Regions from separate parts of the Homo sapiens genome. Here regions 2 and 3 are each linked to region 1. Evidence: promoter capture Hi-C in 16 types of primary human blood cells and fetal thymus (Javierre and others, 2016). All regions are on one chromosome and are shown on one strand. Each heading gives the region's core, a stretch centred on a gene start or on the middle of the fragment in contact. The rest is flanking DNA. Distances are from core to core; before and after follow the strand shown. Region 1 holds the start of TMEM132B (transmembrane protein 132B). Region 2 has its middle 4.6 kb from the start of TMEM132D. Region 3 has its middle 15 kb from the start of LINC02418.

What was found. The method cuts DNA at HindIII sites, captures the fragments that hold promoters and counts their contacts. A CHiCAGO score of 5 or more calls a contact.
Region 2: a fragment that was not itself captured here is called in contact with the fragment with the promoter of TMEM132B in region 1 in 2 of 17 cell types (total B cells and naive B cells); the score reaches 5.4 in total B cells.
Region 3: a fragment that was not itself captured here is called in contact with the fragment with the promoter of TMEM132B in region 1 in 2 of 17 cell types (naive CD4 T cells and total CD4 T cells); the score reaches 5.2 in naive CD4 T cells.

The regions. Positions count from the first base shown.
Region 1 is chr12:125,184,785-125,188,401 of GRCh38, reverse strand. TMEM132B (transmembrane protein 132B) reads right to left here and starts at 2,016. Exons shown (of 9, transcript NM_001366854.1): 1 at 1,536-2,016. The coding sequence starts at 1,602. RefSeq lists a silencer at 2,024-2,233 and an enhancer at 2,282-2,815. The HindIII fragment of the contact is 2,339 bases long and covers 704-3,042 here.
Region 2 is chr12:129,906,863-129,910,436 of GRCh38, reverse strand. No RefSeq gene overlaps it. Among named protein-coding and RNA genes, the nearest start is that of TMEM132D, 4.6 kb to the right of the region's middle. The HindIII fragment of the contact is 786 bases long and covers 1,196-1,981 here.
Region 3 is chr12:130,025,703-130,029,280 of GRCh38, reverse strand. No RefSeq gene overlaps it. Among named protein-coding and RNA genes, the nearest start is that of LINC02418, 15 kb to the left of the region's middle. The HindIII fragment of the contact is 2,075 bases long and covers 779-2,853 here.

The sequences.
Region 1 (3,617 bases), core at 767-3,266:
ATTTTCAAGTCCGAGGGACTGCACTTTTGCAAACAGGTCCCAGGGCTTCAGCTAAGAGAAAACAGCCTCGGCCCCAGCAGCAGCCCCTCTCGTGGACCGCAGAGGAATGCCGAAAGCAAAACAGCTATCATAGCTGCTCCTTAGCCAAGCAGGCAAGATTCATCCACGTTAAGCCCAATGCCATTCTCTAGGCTGAACCAAAGCCGAACGCTGACGGAGATCTCCAATAGAAGGTTTTCTTCAAGTCGAAGGTGTTGGTAAATATTTTGGGTCACTTAAGGGCATCTCAAAGGAAGCCGACACTGACTTTTTCCATGCAAATAAAATACATCGAACATCAAGTTGACATGCCAGGTTTGCTCCTAACTGCAACCTTACCAAGACAGTGAAAGCCGAAAAGTTATAGTTGTATTTTTCTACTGCATTCTGCCTGTCTGTGCGATTTGTTTGTTAAGGAAATGGGGAGAGATTTTCTAAAGCAAAAGCTACCTGTTCCCAAATCATGGGTCTTGATTTTAAAAGGTTTGGAGAACTGAGATTTCAAAAGCACATGAAGGCTGCTCGTGACTGTTCCCGGGGTTCATCTGAGCCTTTAGGATTTTCTCCACTGCTTGCATGGGGTGGGGGGAGGGGAGGAATTGTCATTTTAGGATACGCTTTCTATAGAACCAACATGTAGCCACACCAAGGTGGGTAGAAAGCTTTCCAAACTCCAGCGAAGACAGACAATACCTGACTATTTTGCTTTTCCCACTCACTAGGATTGGGCGACAGCTGAGCTGGTTCAGCAGGGAGTCCAGCTCCCCGGTGCCCAGGCAATGGCTCTGGACAGCACCGCGTTCCAGGCTCCCCGGCGCGTCCTGGACTGCTTGGCCGCGGCTACCCTCTCCCGCCCGCCTTGGGGTCAGGGCGCTGGAGTAGACCGCGTTTGCAGGAGGCGCGCAGCGGGCTGCTCTTTGGCCAAGAGGAGGCCATTTGGCGAGGGTGGGTAGCTTGGGGAGGGCAGTGTGAAAGCAGGGGAGGGCCGCGGGGCGTGGGGAGGGGCTGCGGACAAGCCAGACAGCGCCGGCCGAGACATCTCCGGGGCCCGCAGGTGTCCCGGGAACGCACCACTGTGCGACCGCGGGCAGCAAGACACTGGAGAAGGGCTGCGTCGACGCCCCCGCCCAGCAAAACCCCTGGAGGAACTGGGACCTGGGGGGGATTTGGCCCAAGGCAGGGCGGGGAGGGGGCTCGATTCCTGCAGTCGCGTCCCCACCCGCCTCGAGAGGCTGAGTGCCCCGGTCTGTGGCCCCCGTGCGTCCCGAAAGGATCCGCAAGGAAGCTAAGGGTTTGGGGGAGAAGGCAGGCGGGCTCTCCCCAGGCGCTAGGCAAAGGGGAACGCGCCGGGGGCTCCTGGGTTCCCAGGGTCTCCCCAGGTCTGTCCAAGTCCGGGAGATGCGCGCTGCCAGGGACTTGAGAAGGAGGTAGCCGCCCGTTCACCCAACTTTGTGCGCCTCGGCCGGGGTCGGGGATGGGGTCCGGGGACGCGTTACCTGGGCACTGGAGCGCAGTCAGCGCCAGCAGGAGCCCGAGCGGCGGCGCCCGGCCCGGGGGCGGCATGGTCCTCGGCGCGCGGTGGGTGCGGCGCGGGGCTGCTCCTCTCGCGCGCCCGGCCCGGCCCGCGGCTCCCGGAGCAGCCCCCGGCGGCTACGCCCGGGCGCCGGGCATGGCTCGCTCCCAGCGCGCCGCTCCTCCCCAGACGCATGCGCCGGCGCTGGCGGCGCTTCCTCGGCTGCGCCTCTGCGCGCTCTCCTGGGCTCGGCCGTGCGTGGCTGGGGAGCTGGGGCGGCCGAGGCTCAGCGCCCCGCGCCCTGGCCGGCTGCCCCGCAGTTGGCCCGAGTTGCGCGGCCCCCGCCGCCGCCGCCGCCGCGGCTCCTGCGCCCCAGCGCCCGTCCCATCCCGGTCGCGCCGCCGCCGCCGCCGCCGCCTCTGCCATCGCCATCTGCCGGCCGCCCCTCGAGCCAGCGAGAGAGTGAGCGAGCGAGCGAGCGCCGGGGGGAGGAGGAGGAGGAGGAGGAGTAGGAGGAGGAGGAGGAGGAGAGGAGCGGAGGGCGGGGCCGCGGCCGGGGGAGGGGCCGCCCGGGAGCCGGGGCACAGGCGGCAGCCCGGCCAGTAGGCGGCGGGACGCGCCACTGCTCGGCGGTTCGGGGGAGGGCGCCCGGCCGGGAGGCTCCGGGAGCCCGCCGGGGGTCGCGGGCGCTCGCGGGTACAGGGGCTGCGGGAGGGGTGCGCAATGCAGAGAGGGGATGCCCAGCTAGATCCGGCGTCTTGGGGCGCAGCGGTAGGAGTTGCCAAGGTCGAGGGGTGAGGAGGCCAGCGGAGGGTCACCGGGATGGGGCAGCGACCTCTGGAGAGGTGGTGTCTGCCGGGGCCAGAGACTGCAAGACTGAGCGCGGACAGGAGGTCCCGGGTTAAATGTGGCACAGCTAGGGAGTGCCTGTGGGAGAGGGGAGAGGAGAGAGGGGAGGGCCTCCGGGAGGCCGAGGCTGTGTGCAGAGCCTCTGCACGGCACCGGGATGGGGGCTAGGGGTGCGCAGGCTGGGTGCGGTGACCTGAAACACAGCGAAGGCGGCCTGGGGATGGCCACCCGGGTGAGGCAGGGTCCCTTATTTACCCAGGCTAGAGGATGCGCCTTCCCATTTCGCGCAGGCCCTAGGAGCACGCGGAGGCAGCCAGGAGTTCTCCTGGGAAGGGCAGATTCCCTGGCGGTCCCGGGAATGAGTTCCCAGCGCAGGGTCAGGCAGTGACGGAGCGGAGGTGTTGCGCAGGGCCGGGTACTAGGTGGTCGAATTCTTCCATCCAGGGGCAGGGACGCAGCCAGAGTGCGGAGGGAGGTCACAGGTCACACGGAGCCCCAGTACCTATTATCCCAGAAACCACTGATCCTCCTGGGCGCCCCACCCCCAACCAGGGCAAAGCCACGGGGGGCTAAGCCGAATGAATGAGTCATGCTGGGAGCATGTGGGGGAGCCTCCAGCAGCGCTCAGATGCCTTCAAGCTTCCCCACCACGCTGGGAGGACAGGGGATATGGGGGGTTGCCCACCTGGGAGGGTGGCTTGGAGTCCTGGCTCCGCCCCAGCCCCCACCACACCAGCCACTTGCTCTGCCATCTCAGTTTTCCATGAAAAAGTGGGTCAAACTCTTTGAAAATGGTCAATAAGGCAGCGTGGGGTGATGAAAAGACAGATTTGGGGAAGGCTCTGGAGTCATGGAGTCTTGGCTGAGAATCCCAGCTCTGCCGCTCCTTAGCTGTGCAAGCTGGGGCGAGTCCCTTATTCCTCCCTGAGCCTCAGTTTTCTCATCTGAGAGATGGAAGGCATTGCACATCACCTGGTGTCCCCAATAACACATACAAAGCCCCTGACCTAGGAAGTCGGAACTCATTTAAAGGAGTCAGTGTCAACATTATCATTCTCATCATCATGGCCATTATTATGATAGATCTGATTTTCCTCTGCGGGCCCAGAGCTCACATCAGAAGGACAATCCTCCCCACTCCCGGCTGCCAAGAGGGGATGGGGGACAGGGCACCTGCTTGATTAGTACAGACAAGCTCATTAGCAGAGGCAGCACT
Region 2 (3,574 bases), core at 339-2,838, 4.7 Mb before region 1:
GCGTGTTTACGTTCTCTTTGATGTTGGCAAACTCAACAAATTGCTGGATAAACCCTTTCCCTTGTTGGCCACTAAGAGCTCCTCTAGGGCAGGATTAACTCCCTGTGTATCCATTTCATAGACACTTTTTAATTTTCCTTTTTGGTACAGTAGCAGAGGAGCTATTTTCTTCAACAATAATCGTGGGATGTGTACGTCTGAACTGAAGATCTCTGCAATGGGTTAATTGATTCCCTGACAAAGGCCTCTGTCATCTAAGAACCCAGCCCTTCAAGTCCATTAGACACATTGATTTTAAGCGGACAAAAGAAATCAAATCGTTTGGATGCTTAGCTCCGAGAAGTAAATTGATCTTTTTGATGCACGTCAAATGGACTCATTACGGGCTCGTGCTGCAGGCCACATGATTGCCAGTTTTCTCTTTTGTTTGAGGTCAAGTCCTCTTGGAGGGATGGACAGGGACTGAGTCTGTTCCTGGGGAGGCCGATCTCTGGTGGGACACCCCCTCTTCCTTCTTATTGTGTGCTGTTAGCCGAGCCCCCATAAAGGGAAGGCCCACACCCTGCAAGTGGGCTGCAGAGTGCCAGTTCTCAGTGATCACAGAGGGAGACACCCTAAACAGAGCTCACAGCTGCTCACACAAACCACGTGCTGGCAGATGGATTTCCAAGTCCGGCCTGGACCTCAGTGTCAGTCAACCCCACCACCTCATTTTCTCCATCCTAGAAAACCCCACCGGCCCAGCACAGGGCATGTTCTGAAACCGCAGGGTCGGGACTTGCTAGATGAGAAATTAATACAGGCGTTCTTGAGAAAGAAGAGAGAGACCAAACATCAGAGTGGAAAGGAGACACAGGTTCAGCATTCCAGGGGCCACTACACACTCATAGCTCTGAACGCCGACAGGATGCCCCGGCATGTTGTGCTGTCTCTGAGCTGTGCGGGTCTTGTCTGGCCGGCCTCCCTGGGCTGGGCCTGCGATTGTTCCTGCAGCCACCTGCCTGGCACACGCAGAGGCCTCTGGATTTGGCCCAGTGGGAAGCAGAACAGGGGCCCCGTGGAAGGGATGGGAGTCTGGCATGCTACATTTTACCAGACGCACCTGTGCCTAGCCCCTGCCTCTGTGGTACTATTGGTACGCCAAGAGATCTTCCGAAAATGTGAATGGGCTCCTACAACTTCCCCGCTTGAAGCTTCACTCTGGCTTCCTGAGTCCTGACGAGGCCCCTGCATCCTCTGTCTCCTGCGCCTCCCCTGTACCTCCCCTCCCACCATGCTCTCCCTGGCTCACTAAGTTCAGCCACATGGGGCTTTCTGCTCCTCCACCCTTTGTGATGCCTCATGGCCTTTGCACCTGCTGTCCCAGCCACCAGGCAGGTGTATGACCCGGGTCTGCACTCTGAGGATCCTTCTCATGAGAGAGATTACGCTGCTCCAAGAAGCCTTTCTCGACCTCTCCAAAGGGCAAGTCATTATGATACTTGAGTTCTTCACAGGTTCTTCCTGAAAGCATCTTGTTCTTTGGTGTGCTTGTTTCCTGTCTGTCCCCATGGGAATAAATTTCGTGAACGGCTTGTTCACTGTGAAGCCTCTAGGGCCTGGCCAGCGGTACACCCTGAATAAATAAGTATTGAATGGAAGGAGGAATCCATATAAATCCCATTCCTCAGACTGCTCCAGCCCAGGAGGACCCTCTCTTGGAACCGATGATACTTGTTCTCTGCAATATTCTTTGAAGACCCTAAGAGATCGAATTCCAGCTCTCCAAGGGCATCCTTTGCCTTCTCCCTGGTGCCTGGTAGAGGGGACAGAGCACCTCATGCGTCCAAGAGATCGAATTCCAGCTCTCCAAGGGCATCCTTTGCCTTTTCCCTAGTTCCTGGTACAGGGGACAGAGCACCTCATGCATTCATTAGCTGGTGGTGGTTGGTGGTTCCTCCCTCCTTTGGACTCTCTTCATACTGTAAAATGGGCCAAAGCTTCGCTGTAGTCTCAGGAGCTGATAGAGGTGTTTCCTTATATCCCACTCCTGCTTCTGTTGGCAGTGATGAGATCAATACACCCTGTATTGCCTGGAATGGTTCATTCTAACAAACAAAGCCCTGAACCTCCATGACTTAACACCATGTCATCTTATTTCTTGCTCACCCAAAATTCCATGCAAAAGAAGTGGCATTCCACATTTTCGGAACCAGACTCATTCCAACTTGCAACTCTGCCATTGCTGAAGGCTTGGGGGTTCTCCCTTGAATTTTTGCATTCAGCTTGAAAAGGCAGGAAGAGAGTTTGAGGGTTTCACAGGCTCCCAAACTCTCCCCCTGAAAGGGAGGCACATCCCTTCCTCCCAGGTTCTTTTGGACATAACCATAGCGACAGTTAACCTTAGGAAGGCCAGGGCATGTGGTCTGGCTGTGTCTCCAGCAGGTAGAGGAAGCAGGGGTGAGGGAACATGCTTCTGTCACAGGTTCCAGTGCATGCAAAATCCAGGCAGTCTTTACAACAAAGGGTTTCCTGCAGAGGCAGCCTTGCAGCTTCTCCTTGACCTCACCCCTGACCGAGAAACACTCAGGGACTAATCAGGCTAGAGGTACAAATACATAATTTGTACCAAGAAGTCCAGCATGTGACTTCAAAGAAGACTATTCAAGGCCTGCTGACCTTTCTGTATTGATCCATAAATCAGTAACTTAAGGAAAATGCAGCAGTATCCTATTGGTCTTTGCAGAAGAGGCTGCTCTGCGAGGTTCACCTGGCAGTTACCTGGTGACACCATGGGTCACCTGGGAGAGCACGAATATTCCAACTTTTTAACATCTGCTTGTGGAGCTCTGGGAAGAGATGAGAAAGGGAGAAGGACAGAGAGAGGAGAGTAAAAGTAGGTCTGGATTTTAGTATGGTTAACCTGGAAGAACCAAGAAGTTTGATGATTTAACACAATAAAAATTAATTTCTTTTACCATACTTCTTAATGTGGATTGACGGGGGACTTTGCTCTCTCATCAACTTGCTGGACTGCTGGCTGGAAGGCTCACCTTGTAGCAGCTGCACCATCTCAAACACAGGGTCCACTCTTCTCCCAGGGCAGGGCAGGTGCAGAATGAGGAGTCACAGGTGAGCTTTTCACTGCCCCACCAGAGAAATGACCCCCATGACTTCTGCTCACATTTAGTTGGTCAACTGCAAGGGGCTGAGAAGAGTAGTCATCCATGCGCTGGGAAGGAGAGAGTGACAGGTCTTGGCAAACACACACCTTCCTCAAGGGCACAGCATGGATTCCGCTGAGGTGCTCCTTCTGGAAGGATGATCTCCTGCTGGCCTTACCAGGAAGGGTGTGCAATGTTCCCAGTGTTTACAGTGCCCTCAACATCAGAAGGCTTTCCCCACTAGTGAAAGAGACAGTTGATTGAACCAGGCCTTTCTATTTCCCAGTCATTTCATGAATTTTGGAAAACTGGGAAGACAGGGAGTTTCAAAAAGTCTCTTCTGCATCTTCAGGAGGGATTGATCTGGTAGCTCTCACTTCATGCTAAGGTTTCCCAAACTTCATTTCTCACCATCTTCCGGAGTATTGTCA
Region 3 (3,578 bases), core at 567-3,066, 4.8 Mb before region 1:
CTGATTTGGGGAGAAAGTGGTCCTCCTTTGGGATTATTAGCACCTCCGCCTTTGAAACGCAGGCCGGCCTCACATGGGGCTCGCTTCCTGAGTCAGGTCTAGGAACCGTGGGGCTATGGGACCTCTGCCTCCTGTGTGACCCTTGTCATCCCTAACACCCATGAGCGTGGGCCCTTCAGCCAGCAGCCCACGTGCCCACACTCTGCTGTGCCCCCACTGAGCCCTGCACAGAGACGCCGTGCAAGCCACCTCCCCTGGGGTCCACTGAGGGTCCCCTGATGACAGCAGCCAGGATTTTGCTTGTGGAGCATCTACCAGGAGTGACACCCCAGCCTCTAGGAGTTTTAGCCAGTGCAGGCCACCCTAGCCTGTATCCTTCAATATCATGAGAGAAAAACATAAGCCCCAGAGAGCCAGATTCGAGGACTGGATGTGTGGGGATGGTGGGGGAGAGAATCCTTGTTCCAGAATTTGAGATGGTACCAAATGGAGCCAGCGCCCCATTCCCAGTGATCTGGGATGTCAGTAACCTCCCCAACTGCGCTAATTGTTAGTGTTCCCTGTATATCGTGTGTTAAAAGATAATTCTCAAAAAAGGTAAAATCGTGACTGTCATGCAGATTTACAAATGAATGCATGTTAATGATTACATTCTATTCTGCTCACTAGTAAATGATGAAACCCGACAGATGTTACCACCAGTTCTAAAGAGAATCCTAAGAACAGACACATTTATAGATCAGGAATGCTGAAATGTCTGCTCAAATGAAGGCAAGCTTGATTCTTTCAGAGGAAGGAGGTCAACTGGACGTCTACCGACCGTCCTCCTCTTATAGGATCTCTAGCCTTTATAGGATTTGCATTTCTATATGAATGATTTTTGCATTTCTGCCGGTTATCTTCAACTTAAAGATTTGTAATATAGCTCAAAGACAATGAAAGACTATAATCAGATGGGTGTCCTCTGTGACAAATAATAGTTTTCCATTGAAGCACAAACTTTTTTCTACATACAACAATTAGACAGCTAGTATTTAATAAATACTAAATTAATCCATGTGAACTTCTTAGGATAGATCCGAACTCATTTTCTGTCATAAAATTGCTGAACACAGAGCTGGCCTCATAGGTACTCAGGAAATAGTGAATTAACAAACAGATAAATGAATAAATGAATGGTGACCGTCCTTGACTTCCTGTCCAGCTCATGCTGACTTCCAGATGACCAGTTAGTTGTTACCAAGACTAATGAAGCCATCTCCAAGAGGACAAGGAGCCTTTCATAGAAACACAGCCTAGGGATGTAGAGGAAGAATAAACTATGCATTTATTGAAAATATTTCAGAGATGGTTAAGGCTAATGAACACTGCTGGCTGTTGCCCAAAGCCCCTTGGCCTGCATTGCTGACATTTGCTGATAATTAATACTTTATCAAATAAGGAAGTGAACAACTTTTTAAAAAGTTTCTGAGTATATTCACTATTAGTTACTGTCCACACACGGCAACATGGCTCTGGAGTTTCTGTGCCAAGTCAGACATCCTGATTTTTTTAAATGAACTTTATTGATGTATAGCTTATATACAATAAATCTCACCTACTTCAGGTGAGTCTCACCTGAACTCATTAATTGCAATGATTTCATGAGTTTTGATTAACATATACAACTCAGGTAACCATCCTAATAAAGACATAGAAGAACATTAGCATCACCCTTAAAGTTCTCTGTGCCCCTCCATCACCCCCGTTCCCAACTGTAGATAACTCCCTATCTCTTTTCTGCCATTATAGATTAGATTTGCCTTTGCCAGAATTTTAAATACATGACATCATAGAATACACACCCACTTCTTGGTCTGGTATCTTTTGCTCAGAATAATGTTTGGGGCTCCATCGATGTTGGTGTATGTCACTTCTTTCTTTGTTTACGCTGCCCCAAGTAGACAACTTTGGCATGACTTAGCTCCCATTGATGAAGTCACTTGAAGATGTCACTTATTCGGTTTTATGTTAATTTTCCCTGCAGACATGCTACAGGCAGCTCCCCTTGGCCAAGCTCATGAACTCCGGAGGGACTAGAGTATACAATCTGCACAGAGAAGTTCTTGTCTGGCTCCGAGTGTCCGTATCGCGTGGCTGTATCATTTCAGAAAGCGTATTCAAGGAGCGGTAAATCCAGCATTTATTCTAATTCCTTCACATTTTATGGCAGGGCTGAACCAACCATAAAACAGATTGACAGATATAGGGAGAACGAAATCCTGTATTTTACAAGCTAACGACTTTATTTCATTTCATGTCAACGCCAAGGGTTGATGAATGGTTCTGGAATTTCTGAACTGAGACGTTCCCCCCAGCTCCAGAGATGGAGCATTGCGAGAGCAATGGTAGGAGTCCCAGCCCAAGCCATCTAATCTCCCCAAATTACTCCCTATTCATTTTTCTTTGAGATGGTTTATTTAATGAAGGCTGGATACTCAGGTCTCCGGCTCTGCAGTGCCACCTAGAGGCTAAGCTGCTCCAGGTAAGTTATACGAGGATGAGACGAGTTGCTCTGAAACCTCAACTTCTTGTAGGATGAGTTTAGATATGAAATTAACTTATATGACAAATATTTACCCAGCACCAATTATACCCGGGGGACTGAACTAAATGCTTAACCTCCAAAGATGCATTGCACCTGAAGGGCTAAAAGTGCAGCCAGAAATCTTTACTTTTACAAAGGAGATGAGAAGCATCTTGATTGGAAGCTGTGGTTTGCAAGTAACAGAAAGTACACGCCATCGCCCCCTCAAGTTATTCTATGGGTTCAATAGAATCCTAGTGAAAATCCATTGAGGAAATGGATAAGCTTACTTTAAAAGTTGTGTGGCTTGAGCCCAGGAGTTTGAGACCAACCTGGGCAACATCAGGAAACCCTACTTCTACAAAAAAACAAAAAACAAAAAAATTAGACAGGTGTGGTGCCACGTGCATGTAGTCCCAGCTGCTCAGGAGGCTGAGGCAGGAGGGTCGCCTGAGCCTGGGAGTCCGAGGCTGCAGTGAGCCATGACCCCACCACTGCACTCCAGCTTGGGCAACAGAGCAAGACCCTGTCTCAAAAACAAAAACAAAAATGCATGGAAGAATACACGTCCACAGATGACCAAGGAAGAGTAAACAGGGTGAGGAGAGGGCGTTGAAAGGAGAGACACAGTGAGGGGAAGCAGTGAGAGGCCTAAGATGAAATATTAAACTATTACCCTGCCATACGATGCAAATCCCTTTCTTATTTCTCCCTCAAATTGCCCTTAAAACACCATTTCCGTGTTAATCTTTCTGGAGTTGGTTTTTACTTCTCGGGAAGTAGGTGGGTAGGGGATTAAGGTTATGATAAAGCTCTGAACCTGGTCTCAAGGTGGTGTCTTTGAGACCAGCTTTTGAATTTTTTAAATTGTAAATTAAAAACAAAACCAAAAACACACAAAAAGCAACTTCTCCTTTAATCTTCCATGTTCATTTTACAAACCTCATTAGTCTACATGTGAATCTAGCCAACTTTCACATTATGCTTGAAGAAAACATTAGCAACTTTGTTA